Linked DNA regions of Homo sapiens: all the other regions are linked to region 3. The links are contacts of gene promoters, found by promoter capture Hi-C in human tissues and cell types (Jung and others, 2019). All regions are on one chromosome and are shown on one strand. Each heading gives the region's core, a stretch centred on a gene start or on the middle of the fragment in contact. The rest is flanking DNA. Distances are from core to core; before and after follow the strand shown.

Region 1 (4,044 bases), core at 1,543-4,042, 110 kb before region 3:
TTACCTTGAGATGAAGCAACTCTGTGGTACAAGCTGTACTCCAAAGCTTTCCCGTGGGACCAGGCCAAAATGGGTCTTGGCCAAGACCGCACTCATGTTTGGTTTTGCTCCACTGCCCCATCTGTCTTCCTCATCTCTAGAGAGCATTCCCTCAATAAACAGCTTTCACAAAGATCTCCATCTCAGGCTTTGCTCCCAGAGAACCCAACCTAAACCGGTTGATATCAGATGTTGTCTATGGATGGAATTTGGGGGTGGATCACCCACAGCCAGATGGCAATGAGGACCCATCACTGAGGTGGGTGGAAAGTGGATGGTCCCCAGCATGCTGCAGACATTCCCCTGTGGTGAAGGGGAATAGGAGACACGGGGCTGTATAATATCCAGGCGATTTTGATGTCTTGGTACAGGAGGTACAGGAGAAACAGTTACAGTAAGGACTGTGAAACTGGGTGACTGCTATTAAGAGGACTGTTTCATTGAAAAGAGAAAATGAGTTTCAGGTATAGCAATCAAAAATGTAAAGCCAACTATGAGCCTGGATGTGGTGGCTCATGCCTGTAATCCCAGAAATTTGGAAGGCTGAGGCGGGAAGATCACTTGAGGCCAGGTGTTTGAGACCACCCTGGGCAACACAGCAAGACCCCATCTTTATAAGAAAAACTAAAAATAAAGAAATAAAGCCAGCTATGATAGTCAGTAAGCTTCCTTTGGCAATTTTTACTTATTTATTAATTTATTTGAGATAGGGTCTCAATATGGTACCCAGGCTTGGAGTGCAGTGGTGTGAACATAGTTCACTGCAGCCTCAAACTTCTGTCTCAAGCCATCTTCCCACCTCAGCCTCCCGAGTGCTGGGATTACAGATGTGCCACCATGCCAGGCTGCTTTGGCAGCATTTAAAGACAATCATTTCCTGCAGGCACAAGACCTAATTTTAAGAGTGGCAGAATCAAAAAGGATGAACTCTCAGCCTATACTAGTCTACTGTGCCAGATTCAGGCCCTGGTAGGGAAGGAGTGAACTCTAAGACTTGAGATGGGAACGTCTGTGTATATTTATTTGAGGAACATGAACCCCAGATTCCCTAGGCTTGCAAATAGCCCTCTCCCTTGAAGATGGGAGGAACCTGCTCCTCCACCCTTCATGATTACACAGAGGTCTCAAATGAGGCGAGTAACTTAAAAGACAATGCTCACCCTACAGAGGACCTGCCCCCACCTTCCTTTCTGGCCACCCAACCATAATTAGGGCCATTATCTGAGTATTACTCAACCGGGGCCTGCTGGACCTGCAAAGAGAGGAGAGGGCTTATCATGCCAGAGGTGCTTGGGACCTGGCCAACAAAGGCACTAGCAGGACCTGGAGGATGTGTGGGAGGGGTTCCTGAGGGTGTTGGAATACAAAGTTGGATGAGGGAGAGCCTGTTGATACAGGGACATTCTCTTATGACACAGAATGAACACCTTGGCAAGAGCCTTGGATCTGATATGTGCTGGGGGAGGGGGGTTCTTGGGAGCTTGGAAAAATGATGGACCACAGTAATTGATTCCAAAACTGCCACAGAGATCTTTAGAGGAAAAGTTCAAAAGGCTTCGTGTCTACTCCACGAGAATAGGTCTGCACATAAAGTGGGAAAATCCACTAGCTGGCTGCGTCCTTTGGGGGGCCTGAACATACTCTAATTACCACACCCTAGATTCTGCCCCACACTGGTTACCAGCATAGGTTCTGCCGTATACGTCAGTGTCCTCTTCATTCCTTCTGCAGCCTGAGGTCAAACCTCCATCAAATCTCAGTTGGACAACTGGTTACCCTGTATCCGTTCTCATGACTCTCTAATCTACCTTCTACACTTCATCTGAGAGATCTTTTAAAATGTGTCTTCTGTGAGCCCCAGTTTAAAGCCCATTAGTGGTTCCCCACACCTACAGGACAAAAATTCGAAGCTCACAGGGAGGCATACCAGGCCCCTTGGTCCAGGCCTGGCATCTCAGTCTTATCTCTTGCAAAGTCTCCTCCCACCCTCTGGATGCCACACCTGCTTATGCTGAATCACCTGCAGTGCACACACCGTCTGTTGGTGAGATGTCTCTGTGCCTCTGCTCATGGGCCCTCCTCCGACGTGTTCATGTTTCCTAGCTGTACAACTCCTTCAGGCAGGGACTGCATTTCATCGGTATTTCTAGTGTCTAACATCAGCCTGGAGAACAATGGGTATTCCACAGAATGTAAATGATTGAGGGAATAATGAAGGAGTGAGCCAGTTAGTCAGTGATTTGTGTAACAGAGAGGGGAAAGAAGATCAAAGTTGGCAACATGTTATGATCATTTAAGAAAACTATCTTCTCAACTAGTACAGAGACCAGATTAAAACATGAACAAAGAAGAAACTATTCCTTCCTCTACTTTCTCTTCCTCCTTCTCCCAGTGTACTTATATTCCAAATTGGTTTTGGCTGGAGTGCAGTGGCTTGATCACAGCTCACTGTGGCCTCAACCTCACAGGCTCAAGTGATCCTTCCACCTCAGCCTCTTGAGTAGCTGGGACTATAGGCACGCTCCATCATACACAGCTAATTTCCTTTATTTTTTGTAGAGGGTCTCACTATGTTGCCCAGGCTGGTCTTGAACTCCTGGGCTCAAGTGATCCTCCCACTTTGGCCTCCCAAAGTGCTGGGTTTATAGATGTGAGCCACTGTGCCCTGCCAAAAGCAGCTGAAAGTTAAAAAAAAAAAAAAAAAAAAAAGAACAGCTGGCAGGAAGAGCCACATCAATACTAATAGGTATAAACACTGATTCAACTTCTCTGGGAGTGCCCCTTCTTATCACTGGTGATCTCAACGTGAAGTGTGACTGCACTTGGTGACGCAGCTCGCTGGTCTCCATCCTACTGCCACCTGCTCATGCTACTGGGACCCCGTCTCTCTGAAGATCCACCTACCATAGAAATCCAACTCCATAAAACAGAGGGATAATGTCCTCATCTTTATTAAGGATGAAAAGTAATATAAGTTGAATAAAGTGCTTTTTGTAAGAACATAAAAACAAGTTAAATTTCAAAACTGAACCTACAACAAGCCTACATAATTTCATAAAACTAGGCATTTCAGGTCGGGCGCGGTGGCTCACGCCTGTAATCCCAGCACTTTGGGAGGCCGAGGCGGGCGGATCACGAGGTCAGGAGATCGAGACCATCCTGGCTAACATAGTGAAACCCCGTCTCTATTAAAAATACAAAAAAAAAAATTAGCCGGGTGTGGTGGCGGGCGCCTGTAGTCCCAGCCACTCCGGAGGCTGAGGCAGGAGAATGCTGTGAACCTGGGAAGCGGAGCTTGCAGTGAGCCAAGATCGCGCCACTCCATGCCAGCCTGGGCGACAGAGCGGGACTCCGTCTTGTCAAAAAAAAAAACAAAAACAAAAACCAAAAAAAACCGAGGCATTTCTTCCCTAGCCCAATAGCCAAAAGGCAGGAGCAACCCAAGTGTCTGTCTATTGATGGATGAATGGATATACAGTGTATCGATATAATGGCATATTATTCAGCCTTAAAAAGGAAATTCTGACACATGCTACAACATGGATGAACCAAGCACATGCCAAGTGAAATAAGCCAGTCACAAAAGAACAAATATTCTATGATTCAACTCGTATGAGGTACCTAGAGTAGTCAAACTCATAGAGGCAGAAAACAGAATGGTGGAGGCCAGAGGCTGGTAGGAGAGGGAAATGGTGAGTCAGTGTCCAGTGGGGACAGAGTTTCAGTTTTGTGAGATGAAAGGAGTTCTGGAGACTGTACAACGATGTGTGATGAGCAGGGTGGTCACCCCTGGGGAAGGCGTGGAAGTAGGGAGACATGTATTATAAGAATGCCTTAAGTGAAACTCTTTAAAGCCCTAAACCATTTTAAAAGTATGAATATTCATCCTCTAGTTCTTTTACTGTCAGGTTGCTGAAAAGCAGGCCACTTCCATACTGAATCTCATACCATTTCGAATCAACTGTTTCTAAAGGTGAATTACTGCATGTTGGCACCAAGAGGACC
Region 2 (3,753 bases), core at 1,037-3,536, 92 kb before region 3:
TTGGAATATCCAAAGTGATGTCTTTTTTTTTTGTCTTTACATATGCTAATGAATTAACCACTGCCTGGCAGCCCCTAGGTAGCCTCAGGATGGCGGCTGGTCACTGGAAAGAAAAGGCAGGATTAGAGGGTGGGGACTTTCAGCCCATCCCCCAACCACTGAGGAAGGGAGAGGGGATGAAAGTTAAGTTGATCATCAATGTCCAATGATGTAATCAACCATGCTATGTAATGAAGCTTCTATAAATACCCAAAGGACTGGTTCAGAAAGCTTCCAAACAGGGGAACACTTACAGGTTTCTGGAGGGTAACATGCCCAGAGACGGCATAGAAGCTCTGTGCCCCTTCTCACATAACCTCGCCCTATGTATCTCTCTCTGTATCCTTTGTAATATCCTTGATAATAAACTCGTAAATGTGTTTCTCTAGTTCTGTGAGTCCCTCTAGCAAGTTAATCACACCCAAGGAGGGGGTTATGGGAACCCTGCTTTCTGGTTGGTTAGTTGGAAGCACAGGTAAAACAACCTGGGGCTTGCGATGGGCATCAGAAGTGGGGGGCAGTCTTGTGAGATTGCACCCTCAACCTGTGGGATGGGACACTATCTTCAAGTAGTATCAGAAGTGAAATGAATTGGAGGACACCCAGCTGGTGTCCTCTGCAGAACTGAGTGGTTGCTGGTGGAGAGAATCCCCACACATTTTGCTGACCAGAGGTCACAGAAGTTTTCTGTGCTGCTTGTGTTGTGAGTGTATAGGAGAAACTGAGTTTTTTTCCTATATCCGCAGACGCACACATTTCTTTGCCTAGATTTTCATAAGCCAGCTTATACCTACACACAGAAGTCTCAGTACCCACCCACCACTACTGCTATACCTCCATAACCTTCTATGATGAAGGTTCTTCACACTTTAACTTGCTGCAAACATTATTGTTTCACAGGAAAATACGAATTTAGATAATACAGTTATCCCTGGCTTTCTCTACCAATTACTACACAGACTATGGTGTAAAATAAGGGGACAATTTAATGCTATGAAAGAAGGCTACACACATACCCTCTCCACCTCAAATTCATTAACAGTGCTAATGGCCAGAACTGCTGGGACATCAGTCATGGCAGGGCCCCTTTGCCCCTTCTTAATCAGCCAGGAGGCAGAAATATTTTCAGTGCAATATAATAACCAAATGAAATCAGCAGTCAGGGGCCAAAATTCCCATCAGCCTCATCCGGACAAACCAAGGAACTGTGACAGGATATGATGGAACTGAGAAGTCACCAAAGGAGGCTTAGGTTATGCTGAAAATTACATCTGGGAATACATTTTAAGTTTGATGATTAAACGAATGCCGCTTACCTCTAATTTCTATTATCTAATTCTCCCATGAAGGTAAGCTGTCCAAAGTAAAGGACACATCCCATAATATACCTTTATCAACACTCTCATATACCCCATTTCTGAAATTAACACAAGGAACTTATTAAGTGGCAAAAGGCTTGCTTGTGTATAATACATTGAGGATATACACAAACTCCCTAAATCAGTTGCAATTTTTGTTGAAGATTTGTAGCAGGCAGGGTGTGATGGATCTTGCCTGTAATCCTAAAACTCTGGATGGCTGAGGCAGGAGAATTGCTTTAGGCCAGGAGTTGGAGACCAGCTTGGGCAACTTAGCAAGCTTAGCAAGACCTTGTCTCTACTAAAAACAAAACAAAAAATAAATAAAAATACAAAAATTAGTTGGGCATGGTAGCATGCGTCTGGAGTTCTAGCTACTCAGAAGGCTGACGCAGAAGGGTCGCTTGAGTTCAGGAGTTCAAGGTTGCAGCGAGCTATGATTGCCACTGCACTCCAGCCTGGGTGACAGAGTGAGACCCTCTCTAAGAAAAAAAAAAGAAAGAAAGAAAAAAGAAAAGAAAAGAAAAAAGGAAAAAAAGATTTATAGCAAACTAAAAAAAAAAAAAAAATGAGATTCAGTACTTTGAGCCTGTGGAGAAGCCATAGGAAGGAAGACAGAGAAGAAAATTCTAGCAAAAACTGAACCAAACATTCATTTTTAAAACTTTCTACACAAGGAGCTTTAGTCTAGAAACATCTATTAAATAAAACAATGTGGATAAAATCACTCACCACAAAGTGAGGCAACTATTGAATTAAACAAGCAGGAAAACATTCTTTGAGAGTAATAATGCAACCCAGATCAAAGCAATCACTGAGGAACTACTGAAAGTCACCCATTAAAACTTAAAAAGACAAAGGGCAGCCATCTGATACAGTGATACAACAGCAGAATTCATCATTTAGGAAAGCTTAATTATCAATTATTTATGTCTGGCACTTGCTAGCCCTATTTTCCAAGTGCATAATTTATGGAGAGGGGAGGTACCTAGTTGCCTTAAGTAGAAGCAGCAATCTCAAATAATTTAAGTCATTTACTGATGAACTTCAGCAAGATATATTTTCTATGCATCAGGAATTATACATTTATCATATATTAGGTAAAATTGGAAAAGTTAAAGATGTTACACAGATGGATGGCTTGCCCAAATCATGAAAAAAGAAAGGGAGAGAAGAGAGTTTGATGTCTGGAATTGTCTAGGTTGACCTCAGTGTGGGACCACTGAGTTTCCAGTACCTGTGAGATCTCAGGGGAGGGATCTGGGGCAGTAAAAATCCATGGATGATTGGCTTAGAGGTGGCCATGATTGAACCTAGCGAGAGAGGACCCCTAATGATTTGGGGGCTAAAGAGTTAAAGCAGGCAACAGGGTTCGATTAGAAATGCCCTTTTATGCCATAATATTAAAAGAAAAGAAATGACCACAAAAGATGTGTAGAGCTAATTGTAGTTTTGCCTTGCATTAAAATCAAGAATAGTCTGGGTGTGGTGGCTCACACCTGTAATCCTAGCACTTTGGGAGGCCAAGGTGAGAGGATCACTTGAGCCCAGGAGCTCAAGACCAGCCTAGGCAACATGGTGAGGCTCTGTCTCTGTATATTTAAAAATAATAATAATAATAATACTATGGTATATTCAGTCAGTAGAGTATTATGAAGCCTTTCAAAGTGGTGTTGTAAATCTATATCTACTGACATTAAAAATGTTCACAATATATTATAATTAGACCCTTGTCTCGACAAAAAATTAAAAAATTAGCTGGGTATGATGGCCCAAGCCTGTGGTCCCAGCTACTCAATAGGCTGAGGTGGGAGGATCACTTGAGCCCAGGAGGTCAGGCCTGCAGTGAGCCATGACTGCGCCATTACATTCCAGTCTGGGTAAAAGAGCAAGACCCTGTGTCAAAAAAAAACAAAAACAAAAACAAAAAACAAACAAACAAACAAAAAACCCCATAAAAGCTATATAAGCTGTATACTTATAACTGGGAATGATTTTCTCAAAATTACAAAGTTGGCAAAATTGTTCTTACTTTTACTTAAAATTAGCTTGAACACCTGTTCAATCACTCAATAATTCTTTAGCAATATTAATTTCTAAACTTTTGGTTATTAAGGGGAAGACGCATAAAATGTGCAAGATTGTATGAATTAAAAAGAGCTCCCCAAACCTTCATCTATTTTTTGTTTGTTTTTGTTTTTCTGTAGAGATGGAGTTTCACCATGTTGGCCAGGCTGGTCTCAAACTCCTGGGTCAAGAGACCTGCCCGCCTCAGCCTCCCAAAGTGTTGGGATTACAGGTGTGAGCCACCGAGCCCAGCCATCCTCATCTGTTAAAAGGAAAAATAAATTTACTT
Region 3 (3,777 bases), core at 1,040-3,539:
CGGCAAAACCCCATCTCTACTAAAAGTACAAAAGTTAGCTGGGCATGGTGGTGTGCACCTATAATCCTAGCTACTCGGGAAGCCGAGGCAGGAGAATTCCTTGAACCCAGGAGATGGAGTTGCAGTGAGCCGACAATGCACCACTGCACTCCAGCCTGGGTGACAGAGTGAGAATGTGTCTCAAAAAAAAAAAAAAAAAAAAAAAAACCCAAAAAAATTAAAACAAAAAAAACCCCCACCACACTTTAAAGTTTGAAAAGGAAAGCAGACATGCTTCCCAGAGCAAAAGTGAGTTGGTGCTGCGGTCTCGAGACCTGGGGTGATATGGCAGGAGGGCATGAGCGGCCAGGGCTCCCCTGCTGGGGCTTGGCCTCTTCTTCCTGCCTCTTCCCGGCCTCTTTTTCCCCTCCTGTCTCTCCTCTTGGCCTCCCCACCCAGCTGCCTTCCTAGTTGCTTCTGCTTTTTCTTTCAGAACCAACCTAAGGTGGCTCTGAGACATGCACGTGTCTATTACCTCCTGGCGCTGACCTGCGTTGCTTCCTGCTGTTCACTGGACAATACTTATACTCAATGATTACATGCATTTGTCCCTCCAAGAAAACAAAAGTCCAGTTGAAGGCAGGGCTCAGTGGCTCACGCCTGTAATGCCCAGCACTTTGGGAGGCCGAGGCGGGCAGATCACTTGAGGTCAGGAGTTTGAGACCAGCCCCGCCAACATGGTGAAACTCCTTCTCTACTAAAAACACAAATATTAGCCAGGCGGGGTGGCGCGCGCCTATAATCCCAGCTACTCGGGAGGCTGAGGCAGGAGAATCGCTTGAGTCTGGGAGGCGGAAGTTGCAGTGAGCCGAGACTGCACCACTGCATTTCAGCCTGGGTGATAGAGTGAGACTCCTTCTCAAAAAAAAAAAAAGTCCAAGTGAAACGGTCCCCTGCCTGCTGTGGCTTGTGTCATGGCCATAGGAAGCTGAGGTCCAACTCTCCATCCTGACTCCCCTTCTCTGGGAGCCTTTGTCCTCAACACGTATCTCTTCATGTCCTTATTCATTTTAAAAAGGGAATTCACTCTAAGAATCTTCTGAGAAGTTGCCGGCCCCACTCTGAGCCAGCTCTGGGTCCTTGGATGTCTGATAAGTGGTGGGCGAACCTCTCCCGTAAACAGGGGCTAGGAAGGAGGGGGTGGGATGGGGCCACTACACTTAGGAGGTGGGGTCCCCAGGCCCCTCCAGCTCGGGGAGGCCCTAGGCCTTTTGGTGGCGTTCTTTTAGGATTTTCACGTCTTGCAGCCCCGTGGACTGCAAGGTAGAGCATGGGCCACTCTATTTAGCCAGTCGCACTGAGGTCTGGCACCTCCTCGGTCCCCATCCCCTCCGTCCCCACCACCGCTCACCCCTCCAGGGTGGTGGGGACTCGGCTAGGCCTGGAGGGCGGCCTGGAGGAGGCAGACGGCCTGCGCGTGCCTCCGTGTGCGTGCTCACCCTGGCAAAGCTGAGCTCCTCGGCGGCGTCCTTCATGATACTCCCAGTCCGCACCCTATCGAACGCCCGCACGCCCACCTCCTGCTCCTCCGGCCACTCTAGCGCGGCCAGGTCAAGCCCGCTGGCCTGGGAGAAGTGCTGCACGTGCGTGGCGATGCCCTGCACCTGGCCGTCCACACGCTTGAGCTGCTTGCTCAGGTCCTCCACCTGGCCGCCCAGGTCCTTCACTTGGCTCTCCAGCGCTGACGAAGGCGCCTGGCCCACGCCCCTGCGCTTCTCCCGGGGCGCCCCCTTGGGCACCTCCTTGGGCGCGGGCAGGTGCGGGATGCTGAACGAGCTCCGGACGGACTGCAGCGAGCGGCTGGGCTCGGGCGACGAGGGCTGGAAGTCGATCCGGGTATTTTGGAGGTCGAGGTTCTTGAGCATGGCCACGATGAGCGTGTGCAGGGCCGTGAAGTTGACGGCGCCCACCTCTGGCGTGCCGATGGAGAGGTCCGCCAGCTCCCGGAGGGAGACCGTGGTCGCGGGCGGCATCGTGGCTGTCAGGAGCTGTGCGCCGCCGCGGGGCGCCGGCCAACCACTTCCCGCTCACTGCACGCCGCGCCTTGGGGCCTTTCGGGGGCCCTGCGAGGTCCTCGGGGCGCCCCTGCCCCGGGTCCGGCCGAGTCACTGGACAGAGCTCCTGCCTCCAGGGAATCTGCGCCTCCGCTCCCCGGCGGGGTCCGCGATGGCCACCCCTCCGCTGTCTGTCGCTGGCCTCGGGTCCCCGAGCTGGAGCCCTGGACTCCCAGTCCCCGCGCCGGCGGACGTTTGAAACGTGGGGGCCCCCGCGTGCCCTGAAGATTCCACGTAACAACACGCCTCCCTGCGAGCCACGGGGGCGGGGGGAAGTAAAGGCCACCACAAGGATCACAAGGGGAGCCTTGGCAACGGGCTGAGGAGGCCTCCTAAGATCCAGCTAGACTCCATCCATCCCCTTAACCTAGAAAGGCCAGGATTCACTCACTCTTGGCGGGGCCACATAAGGAAAGACTTGAGGGTTTCCTGGCAACCATGCTTTGTGTCATCAGCTGCGTCCATTCCAGAGTGGTGGCCCCATGTCTATGGCCCCATGTCTAAGGGATGCAGTCCTGGGGCCCTGGTCCCCTCAGACAGTCCACATATTTTGTTCAATCAAAGGTGAAGCAACTTGGAAAAGACAACCCACTCACTATTCAGGCAGTTCCAATTAGCCACTAGATGACTAACTGGTGGCTAATTGTCCCTTTTCTGTGCTGCCATAATTTTTTTTTTACTTTTGAGAGGGAGTCTTGCTCTGTCGCCCAGGCTGTAGTGCAATGGCACGATCTCGGCTCACTGCAACCTCTGCCTCCCGGGTTGACATGATTCTCCTGCCTCAGCCTCCCGAGTAGCTGGGATTACAGATGCGTGGTACCATGCCCGGCTAATTTTTTGTATTTTTAGCAGAGACGGGGTTTCACTATGTTGGCCAGGCTGGTCTTGAACTCCCGACCTCAAGTGATCGACCCACCTCGGCCTCCCAAAGTGCTGGGATTACAGGTGTAAGCCACCGCGCCCAGCCTGCCATAAATTAATTGATCTCAAAAAAACGGCCAGGCTTGGTGGCTCACACCTGTAATCCCAGCACTTTGGGAGGCCGAGGCGGGTGGATCACCTGAGGTAAGGGGTTCAAGGCCAGCCTAGCCAACATAGTGAAACCCCTCTGCTAAAAATACAAAAAATTAGCCGGGCATGGTACCGCGCATCTGTAATCCCAGCTACTCGGGAGGCTGAGGCAGGAGAATCGCGTCAACCCGGGAGGCAGAGGTTGCAGTGAGCCAAGATCGCACCACTGCACCCCAGCCTGGGCGACAGTGCAAGACTCTGTCTCAAAAAAAAAAAAAAAGAAAAGAAAAGAAACCACTCACCTGGTCAAGCGCCTGTGCTTGAGCTCATTACAAAGCAGGATTAAACAGCACGAGACAAATCTGGTGTTAACAATTGAGACATGACTTCCCCATACAAGATTCTTCCCAAAAACGTATAAATAAAACTTCCTAACAGAAGCACAGCAAGGCTACTTAAAGAGAACCTATGAATGTGTGCCATGCATGGCCAGCCTCCTCCGTGAGCTCTGCATCTGCAGATTTAACCAACCACGACTGAACACGTACAGATTCCTGTCATGATTCTCTAAATAATACAGCATGACCACCATCTACACAGGATATTGCAGTAGGTATTACAAGTCATCCAGGATGTGCATAGCTTATATGCAGATACTACACCATTTTCTATC

What was found. The method cuts DNA at HindIII sites, captures the fragments that hold promoters and counts their contacts. A contact is called where the count stands out against the background at its distance.
Region 1: a fragment that was not itself captured here is called in contact with the fragment with the promoter of QRICH2 in region 3 in 2 of the 25 tissues and cell types used here (adrenal gland and small bowel).
Region 2: a contact is called between a fragment that was not itself captured here and the fragment with the promoter of QRICH2 in region 3, in 6 of the 25 tissues and cell types used here (H1 embryonic stem cells, bladder, hippocampus and 3 more).

The regions. Positions count from the first base shown.
Region 1 is chr17:76,196,845-76,200,888 of GRCh38, forward strand. All of the region lies in intron 2 of RNF157 (ring finger protein 157), which reads right to left. Among named protein-coding and RNA genes, the nearest start is that of RNF157, 42 kb to the right of the region's middle. The HindIII fragment of the contact is 4,834 bases long and covers 376-4,044 here.
Region 2 is chr17:76,213,591-76,217,343 of GRCh38, forward strand. All of the region lies in intron 1 of RNF157 (ring finger protein 157), which reads right to left. Among named protein-coding and RNA genes, the nearest start is that of RNF157, 25 kb to the right of the region's middle. The HindIII fragment of the contact is 4,066 bases long and covers 254-3,753 here.
Region 3 is chr17:76,305,987-76,309,763 of GRCh38, forward strand. It overlaps QRICH2 (glutamine rich 2), which reads right to left and starts at 2,290. Exons shown (of 19, transcript NM_001388453.1): 1 at 1,479-2,290. The coding sequence starts at 2,012. PRPSAP1 (phosphoribosyl pyrophosphate synthetase associated protein 1) reads right to left here. Exons shown (of 10, transcript NM_002766.3): 10 at 3,492-3,777. The HindIII fragment of the contact is 11,814 bases long and covers 1-3,777 here.